Regions from separate parts of the Homo sapiens genome. Here region 2 is linked to region 1. Evidence: promoter capture Hi-C in 16 types of primary human blood cells and fetal thymus (Javierre and others, 2016). All regions are on one chromosome and are shown on one strand. The core of a region is centred on a gene start or on the middle of the fragment in contact, and the rest is flanking DNA. Distances in the headings are between cores, read along the strand shown. Region 1 holds the start of RAB30 (RAB30, member RAS oncogene family). Region 2 overlaps CREBZF (CREB/ATF bZIP transcription factor).

Evidence for each region. Contacts are between HindIII fragments. The CHiCAGO score rates a contact against its expected background, and 5 or more counts as called.
Region 2: a fragment that was not itself captured here is called in contact with the fragment with the promoter of RAB30 in region 1 in 1 of 17 cell types (naive CD8 T cells); the score reaches 6.4 in naive CD8 T cells.

Annotation. Positions count from the first base shown.
Region 1 is chr11:83,070,434-83,073,146 of GRCh38, forward strand. RAB30 (RAB30, member RAS oncogene family) reads right to left here and starts at 1,464. Exons shown (of 5, transcript NM_001286060.2): 1 at 1,258-1,464. RAB30-DT (RAB30 divergent transcript) reads left to right here and starts at 1,633. Exons shown (of 3, transcript NR_038903.1): 1 at 1,633-1,713; 2 at 2,190-2,371. It overlaps LINC02951 (long intergenic non-protein coding RNA 2951), which reads right to left. Exons shown (of 3, transcript NR_186233.1): 3 at 1,969-2,263. RefSeq lists an enhancer at 1,417-1,906. The HindIII fragment of the contact is 10,527 bases long and covers 1-2,160 here.
Region 2 is chr11:85,657,946-85,660,754 of GRCh38, forward strand. It overlaps CREBZF (CREB/ATF bZIP transcription factor), which reads right to left. Exons shown (of 1, transcript NM_001039618.4): 1 at 45-2,809. Among named protein-coding and RNA genes, the nearest start is that of CREBZF, 5.8 kb to the right of the region's middle. The HindIII fragment of the contact is 4,467 bases long and covers 1-2,809 here.

The DNA of each region.
Region 1 (2,713 bases), core at 214-2,713:
GAATTTCGCCCATGTCTGACTCAGCTAGGAAAAGGTTTAGCATTCTAGAGTTAAGCAAATACTCTGGCATTTCTCCTTCTTTTGACATTCCAAGAGGGGGTGTGGTTGACCCCAGGCCCATTCATTTCCAAGGGTGTAGATCTCTCAGCCAAGACTGGCCCCATCTGTTGTGGAGCCAGCCAGCTGTTTATCTCAAAGTAACATATCTATTGCCCTAATTATCCCTATAACTCTTACAAGAGCATCATGTAAGTCAGAATGCTTTCTCTCCTGTTAAATGTCAGTTCGTTTAAAAAAACAACAATAACAAAACAACCAAAATCACTCTTCCATGGGCACCTTTCAGTAATGGCAAATGAAGGTTAACAGCGCTTCTAACTTTCCCTTTCTCTAATGTGTTAAAATGAACCCCTCTTCCCTAATCGATCTCTTCAAACCGTTATTTGTGAGTAGTGACTATGCCTCAGGAAACAGCAGCTCATTATGGTACCATTGTCAGTGGCAAAGAGCCTATGCAATGTAATTTAAAACACACAAGCACAAATCTGTCGGCTCCACTTCCAAACAATCTTGAATCCAGCAGTCGGAGAACGGAAAACATTTAACAAAAACGCTGCTTCCAGCAGCCTGAAAGAACCTTCGCCAGACACGTGAAATGTTTCTGACTGGCACGGAGTGCACCATTAAAGGACACTGTCACCTCAAATCAGCAGAAAAGGCGAGACAAACCACATAGACATACACACATAAAATAAAGCCCTACAAAACTTAAGCACGTTCATCTTAAAAATTAATAACTAGTGCTCGTCCAAGCGACATTCAAATGTTCTAAAGTAGTGCGACCACATTAATTCACTGTCTCCATTTCTCCCCACGCATCACCCCTTCCCACTCAAACCTCAGCTCTCGGGCCGTGTGTGACAGGACTGCAGTCCCCCACCTCTGCCTTCCTCAGATTTTCCAAGAGCACTCCCCAACATCCTTCCCAGCCCAGCCCCCTCTCTCCGCCTCAAAAAGGTTGAGAGGAGTTGCGACTAGGGAATTGGCAGGCACCCGTCCTCTGGCGGGGGAAGGTTGCTGGAGTTGTTCTTTGCAGTGACCCAAATGGCACAGAGCTTTTCCCCTTAGCTGTGCCTGCAAGCCTCTCCCCAATCCCCCCCACCTCCCCACCGCTCACAGCTTCCCAAAAGAAAGCCTTGAGAACTAAGCGGGAGGAATAACTTGGTAGAAGCATTTGAATAAATCACTTCAACTCACCTGGTTTGGGATTTTTCTCCCCACCCCAGGCATAAACAGAAATGGATGTGCGAATGAGTCACGCACGCAAGGGAAGGTCTGCGATGTCCTGAGTCCAAGGGCTGGAGTCAGTCCCTGCCCTGGTGCTGCTGCTACACTTAGCTCAGCTGGAGCGAGCGGCAATCGCAAGCCCAGCAGCAGCAGGGGGTGGAGAGACCGTAGCACAATGAATGCAGTGGGGCTTTTGCAATGACATCATCCCTCTGTCCAAACGTCCCCAATAGCCATGCTCGGGAGCGGTGCTTTCTGGGAACTGTAGTCTTCTTACGTCCTGAAGGGATACCCAGGCAATCCCCGAAACTACAATGCCCAAAATGCTCCAAGTGGGACGCGCCCAGAGTGAAGGAGCAAAGGGGACTCGGCCGCCATGTTAGGAGTACTGGGACGATTCCGCGGAGCCGGGCAGAGGTTTTAGGGGTGCGCAGGAGTCAAGTGGTGGTTCAGTGGGGACGGTGAGGTGGAGGACGATCTGGTCGGATAGCCGCGGGCACGAACCTGGGAACCAGAGGGTGGAGGCCATGCTGGGGACTGATGTAGGGCGGGACCGACTGGAAGCGGCATCCAGAGGCCCAGTGAGCCTCGGTCTCAGCTCCTGAAGGGGTTGCATGGGGCCCTACGCTTCCTTCTCCATTTTTTAGCTAAGAGATTGAGAGAGTCGGTTTACTTTTGGGCTTGGAGTATCATTTAGATCTGTTAACAGTACAGTTGAGAGAGTTGGTGTCTTTTGTTGAGGTGCGAGGACCCGAGGCGGCGACCCTCGCCTTTATTCGGAGAAGCCCACTTCCACCCACAGAGTTGGGGTAGTCCTCCGAAATGCATTTTTGTTTTGCCGTTTGTTTTCCAACCCCCTTTCACTCTCCCCAAAGCTTCAGATTCACTGATTTTTCATACAGGAATGATTAACAAAGGCGTCCGAAGAAATCGTTGTTGGAAGGTGACCAAGGTGGAAAGAGACGTTGCTTTGGCCCTGCAAGTAAGAAGAGAGAGGGAATAGCCTGAAGGAGTAACACTAAATTTAAAATGACACTTTTTTACCAACCAGCGAAAGCAGATGTTCAAAGGGGATATTGGCCAGGTGCGGTCGCTCACGCCTTTAATCCCAGCACTTTGGGGGCAGACGCGGGGAGATAGCGTGATTCTAGGAGTTCAACCCCAGCCTGGGCAACATGCGGAGACCCCGTACCGTCTCTACAAAAACATTAAACAAAAAAATTAGCTGGGCATGGTGGTGTACCCCTGTAGTTGCAGCTACACTAGAGGCTGAGGTGGGAGGATCGCTTGAGCCCGGGATGTTGAGGCTGCAGTGAGCCTCGATCCTACCACTGTGCTCCAGCCTGGGCGACAGCAAGCCCGTGTCTCAGAAAAGGCGGGAGGGGTGGGATATTATTGATGATAGGCCTTCTGACGTCTGGCAATA
Region 2 (2,809 bases), core at 93-2,592, 2.6 Mb after region 1:
ACTTTTACAACTAGGGAAAGAAAGACAGAAAAATATATATAACATTTAAAGGGCAAAACAATATAGCTGTTTATTTTACAGGCTAAAATATCAAGATGAAAAGCTCTGATCCCAAATCATCCATTTTACCTATATTCTGTCACTTTTACTAAAAGCAGAGTTCTACTCATCCCAGTGAAAAAAACAATGAATTAAAAGTAATTTCTGGCGTTAACCCAAGTACCGAGTTAAGACTCCTTAAGAATATAGAATTATGTAATCAACTTAGATAATTCAAAGCCCAATGATATAACTAAGTTCTTTGACGATTGAGCACACATTGTTTCCTTACTTATCTTTAAACATTCCTAGTCCAATTACTCCCTAGCATAATACCATTTATAAATGAGGATGAGTTTACAATGGTTTCTGTAACCAAAAAGTATTTCTAATATCTGTCCTCTGCCACATATTTTTAAATTATCTTTTCCATTAGCAGAAATGGGCAACATAAGCAATAAATCATGTTAAGTCTGTTGCTACAAATTTACTTTGCCAAAATTTTTGTTCAGAGGGCAGATATCTGCATTATTTAAGGACATTTAGTCATTTGTAGCTAACACCTGAAGTAAACTACCCTCAATCAATTTTTATATTTCAGTCTAGTCACTGTAGACAAACTATTTAAATCTTTTATAATTTACTTTGTGTAGTTATTTGGCTTAAAAAAAAAAAAAGAGGGCTCACATTCTATTTAAATTAAGACAATATATTTTATAAAGCCCAAATTATAGTACACTAAGAGCCAGAGGGGTCTAGGGAATTGATCTCAGTGGGTATACAGCAAAGACAAAATTTGGAGGCAGACGCTAAAGGAAGTTGAGATAAATAAAATTCAAATCAGTGTATTAACAGAACTACACAAATGTTTACAACACAGTAACTACACTTTTCAATTAGTTCATTGTGAAAACTGAGCAAAATATTTTCAACAATTTTGGGTCAACAAAAAGTATGGAATATTTTAAGACAATAAAGAGTGACTGGTGTTGAGAGTACTGAGGCTACACAGAGGTACTGAAATTCAAATCTGAAAAATACTGTGCTGGCCACACAACACTACAAATTTCTAATGGAAGAATTCCCTTTTTGATCCGCAGCTTAGGTGGTAAGTAAATAAAAAAACAGCTCAGAAAAACAGCAAAAATATTAACATTTAGGAGTCTCAAAACTTTGTATTGGCTGTGAGTCTGGGGGAAAAAAACATAAATGTCATACTACCAATTAAACTTTCAAGAGTCATCAGATTATTTAGCTTTAAAATTTTACTAAATCAGACCTTAAACTACACATTCAAAATGCTGAACTAGATAATCACATATTAAAAAGGTAATGACTCATTATCAGTGAATTACCCAGTCTGTTCTATCAAAGTAGTAGTTAAGGTCACCAAATAATGTTGGTGCCTTTGGTTCTGGAATTATAACTAGCTGTACTGTAGGAGCATCAGCGCCTAAGTTTTAAGCCAGTGGGAATACTCTGCTGCCTGGCTTCACAGGCACTGAATACACTTAAAATGGTAAGAAACTGAATGGATTTAATAAGTTTTGAATAATACAATAACCAACTGTATATTTATTATGAAGTAAAAGCCAATCTCCTACCCAATCCCTCTTCTATCAGCTGCACATTTCCAAGTAAGTGAGATAAAATGACTCAATCTAAACCACGTGAAGGAATGTATTAACATAATCCAACAAAAATGAAATAAAACAATCCAGAGTTTTGAGTGTTTTTTCACACTTGTAATAAACTGAAAAAATATTTCAATTAAAACAACCATATGCCACAAAAAGCCACTCCCATCATCCACAATACTAAAGTCCTTATACAACACTAGATAAATTTTTATATAAAACAGTAGAAACTAGCATACCATTAATTAGAAACCTCAAAATATTCAGAAAACAGTATCAAGTACTCAAGAGAAAGCTCAAGAAGCCAAAACCTCAAGAATCCATACATCCTGGTTGTTACCCTAAATTGTAATTAACTACCCACACATTTAATCATAATCAACTTTTTCAAAGATATACAAATCAATGCATCTATTTAAAAGGACTACTCTTTATAGTTCAGAACTTTACATTAACTTTTATATTCTACTCAGCAGGGTGTCTGTCTGTACTCCAAATTAGCTCTCATGTTCCAGGAAATAAATACAAACTCATATGCCTTGTGATCACTGATGGCCTGCTTATGTAATTCTAGTCCACTAAATGTTAATTCCATAGAATATGCTCTTGATTATGTAAAAACTCTAATTTCTTGATGAAATACTGTAATTCTCCAAAGGTTACAATTTTGTAAAGATATGCAATAACTGAGTATCACTCCCATGAAAGACAAAAAAAGTATAATTTTGTTCCAAGATTAACTTAGTCTCATGTATCTCTATTAAGTCTTTCAAGGATTCCAGAGAATCTTTTCATATCTCCATTTCTGGAAAGTGAAATCAGTATAGAAGTAATTTGGGAACTTGAAAATGGCATTCATTTTTTTCAGCAGATGCCAAATTTTTGACCGACATGGTTCTCACAATTACTTTGTTACCAACAGTCCAGTCAGTTAACAGGTTGTAGGAAAAGATTCGTTTTTGCAGACACTGCTAAGCTGTTCAAAGAGAAGAGAGAGAGATTAATTTAGTGATTATAAAATGCACAAATATTTAAAATATTTTGAACACTTCTTGTTGGATTATATCAGAGGTGTGACTACATTTTAACAAAAGTGGACTTTTTAAGATAAGTCTGGTCAAAGAAGTGCAGAA